Regions from separate parts of the Homo sapiens genome. Here region 1 is linked to region 2. The links are contacts of gene promoters, found by promoter capture Hi-C in human tissues and cell types (Jung and others, 2019). All regions are on one chromosome and are shown on one strand. Each heading gives the region's core, a stretch centred on a gene start or on the middle of the fragment in contact. The rest is flanking DNA. Distances are from core to core; before and after follow the strand shown. Region 1 holds the start of ZBTB4 (zinc finger and BTB domain containing 4). Region 2 holds the start of ALOXE3 (arachidonate epidermal lipoxygenase 3).

Region 1 (5,722 bases), core at 131-2,630, 640 kb after region 2:
ATTTTTTATTTTTCGTAGAGATGGGGTTTCTCCATGTTGGCCATGCTGGTCTTGAACTCCTTACCTCAAGTGATCCACCCCACCACCCCCCGCCTCCCAAAGTGGTGGAATTACAGGCATGAGCCACCGTGCCCAGCCCAACTCTGCTTCTTTTCTATTTATGTCTCCATGACTCCAAAGTTTGTCTGATTCTTTTATTCTTTTTATGGCTAGCTCTGTGGCTTTACATTAATTTGTTTATTTATATCTTGCATGGTTTCAGAGAGGTTTTTTTGTTGTTGTTTTTTTTTTGAGACGGAGTCTGTCTCTGTCGCCCAGGCTGGAGTGCAGTGGCGAGATCTCGGCTCACTGCAAGCTCCGCCTCCCAGGTTCACGCCATTCTCCTGCCTCAGCCTCCCGAGTAGCTGGGACCACAGGCGCCCGCCACCACGCCCGGCTAATTTTTTTGTATTTTTAGTAGAGACAGGGTTTCACCGTGTTAGCCAGGATGGTCTCGATCTCCTGACCTCGTGATCCGCCCACCTCGGCCTCCCAAAGTGCTGGGATTACAGGCGTGAGCCACCGCGCCCAGCCTCAGAGAGGTTTTAAGGCAAGGAGCTGTGAACCCTGGCTCCTCCATCTCCTTAGTTTTTAATTTTCCAGCACCAGGGAGGAGTTCTTGGGATTGTCCCTGTGGAGTTTCAGGAATGTGTTTTTTCTGTGTGTGCTTCCACCTGGTGTTTTGTTGATGCTGTCCCCAGAGGCCGACACCAAGGCCTCTGCATTTATGTTCAAGTATACAGATGTGGATCTATCTGCTGGTGGGGACAAAGTACCCAGCCAGCTTCATGTGTTCATTTGCGCTGGTGGTCGTTCGTGTGTGCCCCGTATGCAGGGCCAGGGCCTTCTTTTTCCGCGGCCTGCTGAGCTTTCCTGCGCATTCCTGGAGAGGGTGTGTGTGTGTGTCCAGGGCTGGCCCTCTTTGAGTGTGCCGACCCTGGGTCTGTGAGTCCCACCGGGCCTGATTATGAGTCTGCCATGTCATGTCTGCACCCTGAGAGCCTGTGTGTTATGCTTTCAGGCAGTGTGCACCGCTGAGTGAAGGGCGTGCAGGAGGAAGGGCGGAGGGAGCCCTTTCCCTGGGGGTCGGTGGTCTTGCGCCCCTGCCGGGATGCTGCAGCCCGGCCCGCGCCCCGCTCGGTGTCCACCCGCCCGGTGGCCCAGCGCGGCGCAGTGTCATGCCGCGGGGGTCAGTCCTGGGGAAGGCCGTCGGGCGCTCGGAGCTTTGTGTCGGTGTCGGCTGCGCTGCGCCGGCCTCCTCTCGGCGGCGGCGGCGGCGGCGCTGGGGGGGGACTGTTTCCGGGGGTGGGGGTGGGGGTAGGACCGGGGCGGGGGGAGCCGATGATGTCAGCGGCGGCGGCGGCGGCGGCAGCGGGGCCGGGCCGGGGCCAGGCGCTGGGGGGGCCAGGGCCGGAGCTGGAGCCGGAGCCGGAGCTGGAGGCGGGCAAAACCGGAGCGGCCGGGGGCGGCCACGGTGATGAGCCGGGCCTGGCGGACGCGGCGCCATCGCAGTCAGGTGGGCCCTGGGGCGAACTGGGCAGGGCCAGGGCGGACCGGAGCCAACTGCCAGGCCCCCTCTCCGCTGCCCGGCGCTGCGGGAGCCCCGACCGCGCCCCGCGCCCAGACCGCTCTCCTTTGGGGTTGACCTGGGGGCGCAGGGGTCGGGGGCTGAGCCTGGCCCCGCCCCCGGGCGCGCACGACGCTGGGGGGCGACTAAGGGGGCCCTGGTATGGCGTCCGAGCGAGGGGCGGCCGTGGGACGCGATCGCCTGGGGCCGTGGAAGGGGAGGTGCTCACTCCCTCTTTGAAGGGTTAATTCTGCAGCCTAATGGCCCCCTCCCCCCGTGGGGCAGATTGGGGGTGGGGTGGGGCGGGTGTGAGCCCGGGCAAGCGCTGCAAGCTGCTGGGAGGGTGATGGCGTAGGAGCCAGGCAGAGAGGGGGAGGGGTGGGCCGCCGAGCGCCCCAGAGTTGGGGTGTGCGGGGTGCGCAGGGCGAGCTGGGGCCCCGGAACCGCCGCGCCGTCGGGGCAGGGTTGTGGCTGTGAGTCTTGGAGATCGTGTGTCTTGTGCTGTGTGGTGGGGCAAGGTAAACCTCTCCTGGGCACCACCGTTTGCTGGCAGCCAGGGGTCTGGGTAGGGCCCTCCCTGGGCCATGGAGATAGAAAGCCAGGAAGGGTGTCCAGTGTTGTGGGGCAGAGTTACAAGACGAGCCCTGTGGCTTTGGGTGACAGATGGGTATTCTGAGCAGGGCACAGCATGCTGGGTGCAGAGTTTGTTCGATGTGGGGCTGTATGTTTTCTACAGCATGTGTTTTCTCGCATGTGTGTCTTGTGCTGCACCTATGACCTGTTTATGAACTGTTTTCTGCAGAGCTGGCATGCTGTATGTGTTGCGGAGGGTGCCAGGATGCAGTGTATGTGCCCTTTTGGAGGGGGCGGTTGTGGGCCTTTGAGTCAGAAGGCGTCACGTCTGGGTCCCATTTCTGTGGCCCTGCTGAGGTGTGGTCCAGTGGTGAAGAGGGCGATGGATGGGTTTGCGTGTCTGTGATGAGCGCGTTGCATGGGGGCTGCGCGTCTAGAACTCAGATCCCAAAGATCATGAGAGGAGCGAGGAACCCCGGGGTATGTCTCAGGGGCCTGTGGGTCAGTTGGCACTGGTGTGAGGGGCTCGAGGTGGAATGCGCCAGTTGTGTTTATGGGATCATGGGCAGCCAAGCGAGGGGAAGGTTGTGTGTTTGCAACATTCTCCACAGGATTCTTTTGTGACGTTGTTTGTAGGAGCCTGTCTGGGCTGCTGAGCTGGGAGGCAAACTGGTCAGAAAACACATGTGGGGAGGGAGGTGGCGTGACAAGGGCAGTGTGGGCCTCAGACCCAAGAGGCCAGCCGCAAGCAGGCTGTGTGTGCGTGCCTGCCGTCTGTGTGCTTAAGTGGCGGTGGGGCTGCGGAGGGGATTTGGTATGAGGAAGGCGGGAGATAAATGCAGGGTAGCGCATGGAGGCCGGCGGGAGGCATGGGTGTTGTCAGATGGCCCAGCTAATCTTTGCAGGGTCTGTATGTTTGCCCCTCATGAGCCTGCCCAGCGTGTCAGGGTCACCCGGAGGAGAGGCTGGGCGGCCACAAGGGAAGTAAGCTTAGACAGAGAGGCTCCTTGGCCATGTTTATGTAAAGGCTGGGTGTGACTCTTGTCACTAAAATGGAAAAAAGAAACGTGAAGTTTTCAGCCTCCTCCTGCTTCACCCTCTCCCTCTCTCTGCCCCCCTTGTGGGTATCTCTGACGCACACTGGGCCCCACTCCTGCGACGGTGGAAGGGCCTCAGAACAGAATTCGCTCACTAGGCAGATTCCTCAGAACAGGTTTTCCTCACCTTTGGGGACTGGGCCCTTCTAGGGGTGTGTGTGCAAGTGCATTCCAAGCCTGCACACCACTGTCTACTGTGCCCGGCCCCACTGGAAGGATGTGTGTACGTGGGGGAAGGGAGGGTGCTGCGGACAGGCCCTCCGGCATGGGGGGCTGGGAAGGGGTGGCTGCCGTGGGAGCCTGCTCAACAGGTGCACAGTGACGGTCTGGTGAAGAGAAAGGAGCCATGGTCCAGGGCTGAGGAGCTCTGGCGTCTTTACCATTCCCTCACTGGCACTTGATCTGAAGGAAGCTCAGTTCCTCATCTGCAGAATGGGGCTGATTGTCTGCCCTGCGTATCTTCCAAAAGCACATGGGAAACGGACCCGGAAAGTGGCTATAGTCTGGGGGCTGTGCCTATGCCAGCCCCTGTCAGCCCTCCCCCAGGACTGGGAATTCCCTTCTTGGGGCTTCGCTGATAATAATGGCAGCACACACTTGCTTAGCACTGACCGTGCACCAGCCTGTCCTCAGGGCACTTATATGTGGCCACTCTGTCCTCAGAACAACACCCTGAAGTAGGCACTCTACCTCCCTTTTTCAAGTGAGGCAGCTGAGGTCCAGAGAAGTTAAGTAATCTGCCCCAAGTCACTTAGCTAGTAAGAGGTGAAGCTGTATTTGAACCCGGGCAATCAGGTTGAAGATCTTGTGCTCTTAACTACTGTACTCTGCTGCCTTCTGGAACATTCAGTGGATGGTCCTTTCTGTGCAACTCCCTCCAACACTCTTCTCCCCAGTTGCTGCAGAACTTAGCATTTGCAGCAGTCCATTTCAGAAGACCCGGATGCTCAGGGATCCCCAGCTGAGGGCATGAGAACCTGAGTCTCTGCTGCTGTGTAAGGTGGATGCTGGCCATAGGAGCACAAAAGGTTGATGAGTCAGAGGAAGGAATGATCGTTCTCATCCTGTGGATCAGGGAGGGCCAAGAAGGAGGTGGCCTTGGAGTCAGATCTTAACGTTTTGGAGGGATTTTGACAAGCTTGGGGAAAGAGCATTTCTGGCAGAACAAGCCAGCACAGGCAAAGGCATGAAGGTGTGGGTCATGTAGAAGCTGGAGAGCACACTGGGTGTCTGGGGTTTTGTTCATTTGTTTAGAAACTGGGTCTCAATATATTGCCCAGGCTGGACTCAAACTCCTGGGCTCAAGCAATCCTCTAGCTGCAGCCTCCTGAGTAGCTGGGACTATGGGTATCTGCCATCACGCCTGGCTCACGCTGAGTACTGTGTGTTTGAAGAGGATAACACAAGGCAAGATTAAAAAGGAAGATTGGAGCTAGACCAGAGCCCTTGACTGCCTGGTAGAAGAATTTGAACTTTCTTCTAGAGTCAGTGGGGACCAGTGGAGGTTTTGAGCCCAGGAGTGATAGTCCTGAACTGTGGTTAGGGACGTTGACCCTCAGGGGGAGGAGGGCTGGATGGAGGAAGGTAAGCCTGGAGGCCAGGGGATAGCTGGGAGGCCATAACCTTGGACCACGTGAGTGTTAACAAGGACCTGAGCTATCGAAGGGAAGATTTCCAGAGCCATTCCCAAGCTCGGCGGCGATTTCAGCCACACTTGATGACTGCTGGATGTGGAAGTGAGGGAAAGGGTGGAGTCAGACATGACACATTTAGCACTTAGCACGTGAGACCTTGTGCGGTGGTTTATGTAACCAGCTGGCGGGCCATAGGCCTCTTCAGGGCCAGGTCTAGCAGTATGGCAGAGGGAAAGATTGAGCATCTGGGGTCAGCTGGGCCTGGATTCGAATCTTGACTGCTGCTTACAAGCTGTGCGACCTCGAGTAAGGTATATCCCTCTCTGAGCCTCGGTTTCCTCTTCTGTAAAATTAGAATAATATGGCCGGGCGCAGTGGCCCATGCCTGTAATCCCAGAACTTTGGGAAGCCAAGGCAGGTGGATCACCTGAGGTCAGGAGTTCAAGACCAGCCTGGCCAACATGGAGAAACCCTGTCTCTACTAAAAATAAAAAAACTAGCTGGGCGTGGAATCCCAGCTACTCTGGAGGCTGAGGCAGGAGAATTGCTTGAACCCAGGAGACGGAGGTTGCAGTGAGCCGAGATCACGCCACTGCGCTCCAGCCTGGGCAACAGGATAATATAAAACCTATTGTGGGTGGCTGTACTGAGAATATCATTAAATGAGGTAATGTGTGTGAGGCCCCAAGAAGAGTATGAGGCAAATTGTGAGGACTCCAGAGTGGTCAACTTATTTATGGTTTCTTTTAATTTTTTTTTGAGACGGAATTTCTCTCTTGTTACCCAGGCTGGAATGCAATGGCATGATCTTG
Region 2 (5,898 bases), core at 1,076-3,575:
GGGACATGCCAGGAGGGCGCGGTTTGGATCTCAGAGGCCAAGCCAGGTAGAGGTAGCGGGCGCAAAGCATGTTAGCCAGGTGAGAGAGAGGGCGCACATGGGTCGAAAAAACAGGGAGGGAGAGCAACCGAAAATGGCTGAGCGAGCGAGTGCAGAGCTCCGGCTGCCCGCTTGGGGGGTGTTTCCGGCTCAGGCGCTCCCCACTCCCAGATATAGTCCCACCCAAATAAACTAGTTTTGTTGTAAATTTCTGTGTGTTTTTGTCTCTTCTCGTTTATCTGTTCTGCCATCTGCTGCTATGCGGTCCACAGTCTCGATGGTTCTTCATTTCCAGTCTAAAAGATGTGGAAAAGGAGACGAATCAATTTGGCACTCTTAAGATTTGCCCCATTCCTTACTTCTAGTCTCTTAGGAGGACAACGGGGACAGTAAGTTTTCGTGCAGGTAGCGTGGCCGAGCGGTCTAAGGCGCTGGATTTAGGCTCCAGTCTCTTCGGAGGCGTGGGTTCGAATCCCACCGCTGCCAGGCTGGAGTTTTTCTGGTGGATTACGCACCTGCTACAGTTCTGTTAACAGTTCTGTGAGGTTACACCTATTTACATGCAGAAAGTAATTTTACGAATTCCCCTGGTAATGGTTTCACCATCATCTTCCGTGTTTGGTCTTCCAGAGAGATCATAGGCCTGCATCCATCCCAGAAGCTAAGACCTGATGGTAACTGCTGAAGCAATATTTCGTTTCTTCATAACATCTCTATTATTTCGTTTCTTCATAACATCTCTATTTTAACATGTTTTCAAATGTTAGCTCAACTTCCAACATATTTAAATAATTTATTGTACGTTCTCTTAACACTGTGTTATAGGACTCAATTATCCGGTAGGAAAAGCACAAATAATTGGTAGTGTCCTAGTTTACTTTTTTTTTTTGTCGTATTATCTTGGGTCATAGGAGTATCCCCTCTGTGAAAATCAATTAACAATATTCAACATGCTGATATTAAAAGAAAAGCTTCAAGGTTCCACCGAGATTTGAACTCGGATCGCTGGATTCAGAGTCCAGAGTGCTAACCATTACACCATGGAACCTCCCTCGTGGTGTCTTTCAAGATTGTGTACATTACTGGACATTCTATTTTGCGTGTCTTCCACACCCGTCACTTAAAACGAAAACAAAACAAAGTCTGCTGTTGGATATGGTAGACACCGTTATCGAGCACTTGAAATATATGAATTCAGATGTATTGCCAGCTTCTAAATACACATCTTCTTTTGAAGGAAGGCTTTGTACAAACAAAAAGACTTAAAATTTCATTAATATTTTTAGAATGTTGATTATATGTTAAAATAAGATTTTGGTATATTAGGGTAAGTAAAATAGATCCGTGAAATTAATTTCGCTTGCTTTTTATTCTTTGTAATGTGGCTACCAGAAAATGTAAATTCGATAATACGGCTCGCGTTTGTACTGTTTTAAAGTATGTTTATTACCCTCCACCGTCGTTTGCTGTATTTTGTGGAAATCAAGTTTCTGTATCACCTAGCTTTAAAAACTAGTAACTATTTTTGTTACCATTTTATGCGAAGTGCGGTACCCAAAAGCAAAGACATGCCGCCCGAACAGGGACTTGAACCCTGGACCCTCAGATTAAAAGTCTGATGCTCTACCGACTGAGCTATCCGGGCTCTTCACGAGAGCTTTACTTTTTGCTTATAAGAGGGTTCTCTATAGGAAAAGCCAGGCTTGTAGAACCGACAGAGGATTTTATCTGTGCAGCATAGAATATTTTGGCACAGATTTGGAAGCAGCGGGTGAAGCTCGCCTGCTGCTGATTGAGCTTTTTCTGCCTCCCGTTCTTAGAGCCCCCGCCGAGGCTGCGACGCAGGGACTGTACCATAGTAGAGGCTGGAACAGTGCGGCGCCGGAACCGGCCGCGCGGGGCCGCTGCGGGCTATGGGCTTCTCTGAGAGGTTCCTCCCCAGTCCCTAGTGGCCCAGATCCCGGACACCTGGGCTCCCGCCCAGGATCCTGCAGGCCCAGGGCGGTCCTGGAGCGGAAAGAATGCCACGCGGGGCATTCAGACCCTGTTTGCCGGCGCTGTATTTCGCTTTCCTGACCTGCCCTACTCCAGAGCAGAGAATGAGGTCGGGCGTGCCAAAGGCTGGGGACAAAGAGGGCCATGCGTGGGGGGATCGGTGTATGGGGTGACAGGGAGCTGTTCCTGACCATTTGACATGTGCTGGAATGCGTGTGCGACTCACCTGCGTGTGGCTGCAGTCACGTGTGATTTATGACCAAGTGCAACTCTCCACTGTTTAGTGATTCACACGGATGATTCACACGTAGGAATGCAGGTGCCCTGTGCTCATCTCTGCCTGGGAATGGGGAGGAACAGATCTTGGGGGACATTGGGGAGTGGGCGGACAAGCACTCCAGGGCATCAGTCCGGGCCGCTGACCAGGCGGAGGGCAGTGTCCCAATTATACAGGCGTTACCTCCTTTTCTCCATCTCAGCATCTGATCCCTCCCTCCGCAGTGGAACCCAGGCTCCTGATATCCATCTGGGTGAGCCAGCCAGAGGGACCGGCTGTGTCAGAGGCAAGCAAACAAGTATTAGAGTGCAAGACTGTGGGCGGAGAGAGGAAGCCCGAGCCGCCAGCAGGGAGCTTCGGAGAGAGAAAGCCCAGGAACATCCCAGAGAGAGCTGGGCCCATCCTCAGCCCTACCCAGCCCCGCAGCCCCTAGCCCTCCGCCCAGAAACCCAGCCCTGTCCGGCGTGCCGCTCTTCTCCTCCAGGCCGGCTGCTGCTGCGGCCAGCGTTGCCGGGGCATCCCTTCCTCCTTCCCATCATGGCAGTGTACCGCCTGTGTGTGACCACTGGTCCCTACCTGAGGGCCGGCACACTGGACAACATCTCTGTCACACTGGTGGGCACGTGTGGTGAAAGCCCCAAGCAGCGGCTAGATCGAATGGGCAGGGACTTCGCCCCTGGATCGGTGAGTACAAAGGAGACAGGGAAGCGCGACCTCAGAGGGGCAGGGGCCGCAGGCGGGAGGAGTATTCCTCCTGGACTCTTGAGATCCTGCTGAACTCAGGATACCGGCCCTGACCTCCTCACCTTCCCTATTGAGGTCCCTGTCTTTCCTGGAGATGATGAACTCCATCCAGGCAGGACTGTGGAGAGGAAGGAGCGTTGGACAGGGAGTAGAGGGACTTCCCCTGGCTCCTAAACTCCTCCCATAATTGACCGTGGGCTTTGGGCAAGTCGCTTCCCCTCTCTGAGCCTGGGTTTCCTCTTATCGAGGGGATCTGCCTGCCTCTGCCAGCCCCAGGTGGCCTCCACAAGAGTTCCCAGCCGGCCTAGGAAGCTAGTGAAATGCAGTGCCCACTGTGCTCGGGCACCTTTTTCTTTTCTTTTTGAGATGGAGTTTTGCTCTTGTTGCCCAGGCTGGAGGGCAGTGGTGTGATCTCAGGTCACTGCAACCTCCACCTCCCGGGTTTAAGCGATTCTCCTGCCTCAGCCTCCCAAGTAGCTGGGATTACAGGCGCCTGCCACGACGCCCGACTAATTTTTTGTATTTTTAGTAGAGAAGCGGTTTCATCGGGCAGGCTGGTCTCAAACTCCTGACCTCAGGTGATCCACCCGCCTCGGCCTCCCAAAGTGTTAGGATTACAGGCGTGAGCCACCTCTCCCGGCCCGGGGAAGCTTTTTCTAATTCATACAAAAGCCCGGTATGGGCTGGGAGCAGCTCAGGTTTGTATGCCCGAATAGGCTTAGGTGTAGATGCATCTTGCAAGGCGCAAGGACCGCCTTGGCAGTTCCCCGCCTCTCACCTGCTTGCTGTCTTGGTCCCCTCAGGTACAGAAGTACAAGGTGCGTTGCACAGCGGAGCTGGGTGAGCTCTTGCTGCTGCGTGTACACAAGGAGCGCTACGCTTTCTTCCGCAAGGACTCTTGGTACTGTAGCCGCATCTGTGTCACCGAACCGGATGGTAGTGTATCCCACTTCCCCTGCTATCAGTGGATTGAAGGCTACTGCACCGTGGAGCTGAGGCCAGGAACAGGTGGGCCAGAGACGAGGACTACACTGTACTGCAGAAGGTGTCCTTTGGGATTAGGAGTGGGGTCTCACAGAGCCCCAGAGTATAGGGAATAAGATTGAGGTCAGAAACTCTGGGCTCCCAAGTAGATGTTTTCTGAAAAAAGGGAGCCTCTCAAGCCCTGAAATGCGAGGGTTTTGCAGACGGTATTGACTCTTCTGGAGACTCACATAGACACATACACTCATATAGGCAGGCACCCTTCTCTCATACACATAGGAAGCACTTTGCTTTCCACAGCCTCCCTCTGCACTTCTCCAGAGTGAGTTCCTCCAGACCCCAGAGAGGAACTAACCTGCACCCTGAGTCATTAGATTTTAACAGGTAGAGAAGCCCTGGCTGCTCAGAGATTTTAGCTGGAGAGGCCCCATTCCCTCCCCTACTACTAGCTTTTCTAGTGTGGATGAGGTCCCTGAGAGGTGCTGCTAGGATTCCTTGTTGAATTTCTGGGGCCTTCTGCAGATGCTGGGCTTGAGCATCTTCAGTTTCCAGAGCTATCTGATCTGGAGAGGCAACAGTAGGGCTGCTCTGGGTGTTGGGAGGAGGCTCAGGATGAAGGAGGGATATTCTAGGTCAAAGTGAGGCAAATGAATATTACCCCATGGTCCGTAATAAGTTTTCCATAGACCTCACTATAAACTCTCATCCATCTCCACAGCACATCCATCCATAGCTTCACAAAATATATTTGTTCATCAGTCATTTAAAGTGCATCTTATACACATGGTGCCAGGCACCATGCTAGAAGCCGGGAATACAGAAGAAGAAAAAGAAGAAAAAGGAATACAAGACGACTTCTGCCCTCAGGGAGTTTATAGTCTGGAGGGGAGATAAACATGCCAACAATTGGGAAGATTGCTATAATTTGGGGGTGAAGCTGTCTTGAATCCCTTCTACTGATGAATACACAAAGAACGTGGGGGCACCGCCACGTGTTTCACAGGGATGTGGCTGTCGGATTGGGTTCAAGGGTCAGGGGGTTCAGGCAAGGTTTGCAGAAGATGTTGTTGGAAAAGAGACTTATACCAAGAGTAATTTTCATTCCCCACAGCAAGAACTATTTGTCAGGACTCTCTTCCCCTCCTCCTGGATCACAGGACACGGGAGCTCCGGGCCCGACAAGAATGCTACCGGTGAGGGTGGCCTAATTTGACTTCTTTCCCCATCTTTATCCTGACCTCAGTCTTAATCAGATTGTTCCTAACTCTAACCTCATTCTCAACCTTGGGTGCCTAGCTTGGATCAGGACTCTTATTTGGACCTAACCCCACTTTAATAGTGACCCTGAATCTGAACTGAGAACACCAATAGTAACAGTTGTCCCAACACCACCAATGAATCCATACTCAGCCCTCAACTGTCCCTGATGTAACCCAGATCCCAATATCAGAAGTGACCTGAAGTATCCACCAATCTCAGTCCTTTCTCAGCCTCCCCCACTAAACCGGCCATGATTTTAATCTCAACACAAACCCATCTCTAACCCAGTGTGGGCATTAATGCCATCCTTAAATGCTACCCTATGTGAAGCCAGTGCTTTCATGGAGAAATGTCCAATTCCTTGTCACTCATCCAGAAAGTAGGTGGTTTTTGAAGTTTTAATCTGAAGCCGTGTCTTTAAAGCTAAGACTTGTGTTTATCCCGAGCATGACCTGCCACCTCTGACCTCTTTCCCTCGGAAGCTGGAAGATCTATGCCCCTGGCTTCCCCTGCATGGTAGACGTCAACAGCTTTCAGGAGATGGAGTCAGACAAGAAATTTGCCTTGACAAAGACGACAACTTGTGTAGACCAGGGTGA

The links. The method cuts DNA at HindIII sites, captures the fragments that hold promoters and counts their contacts. A contact is called where the count stands out against the background at its distance.
Region 1: a contact is called between the fragment with the promoter of ZBTB4 here and the fragment with the promoter of ALOXE3 in region 2, in 1 of the 25 tissues and cell types used here (dorsolateral prefrontal cortex).

Annotation. Positions count from the first base shown.
Region 1 is chr17:7,475,289-7,481,010 of GRCh38, reverse strand. ZBTB4 (zinc finger and BTB domain containing 4) reads left to right here and starts at 1,380. Exons shown (of 4, transcript NM_001128833.2): 1 at 1,380-1,555. RefSeq lists silencers at 1,024-1,283, 1,304-1,763, 2,024-2,073. The HindIII fragment of the contact is 10,425 bases long and covers 1-3,791 here.
Region 2 is chr17:8,114,941-8,120,838 of GRCh38, reverse strand. It overlaps ALOXE3 (arachidonate epidermal lipoxygenase 3), which reads left to right and starts at 2,325. Exons shown (of 16, transcript NM_021628.3): 1 at 2,325-2,353; 2 at 2,536-2,995; 3 at 3,859-4,063; 4 at 5,151-5,232; 5 at 5,782-5,898. The coding sequence starts at 2,849. It overlaps TRK-TTT3-5 (tRNA-Lys (anticodon TTT) 3-5), which reads right to left and starts at 1,684; the gene lies at 1,612-1,684. TRQ-CTG1-5 (tRNA-Gln (anticodon CTG) 1-5) reads right to left here and starts at 1,087; the gene lies at 1,016-1,087. It overlaps HES7 (hes family bHLH transcription factor 7), which reads left to right. Exons shown (of 4, transcript NM_001165967.2): 4 at 1-247. It also overlaps TRL-TAG1-1. RefSeq lists silencers at 389-598, 969-1,058, 1,189-1,238 and enhancers at 1,759-1,858, 2,009-2,078, 2,159-2,238, 1,960-3,159. The HindIII fragment of the contact is 5,361 bases long and covers 1-4,810 here.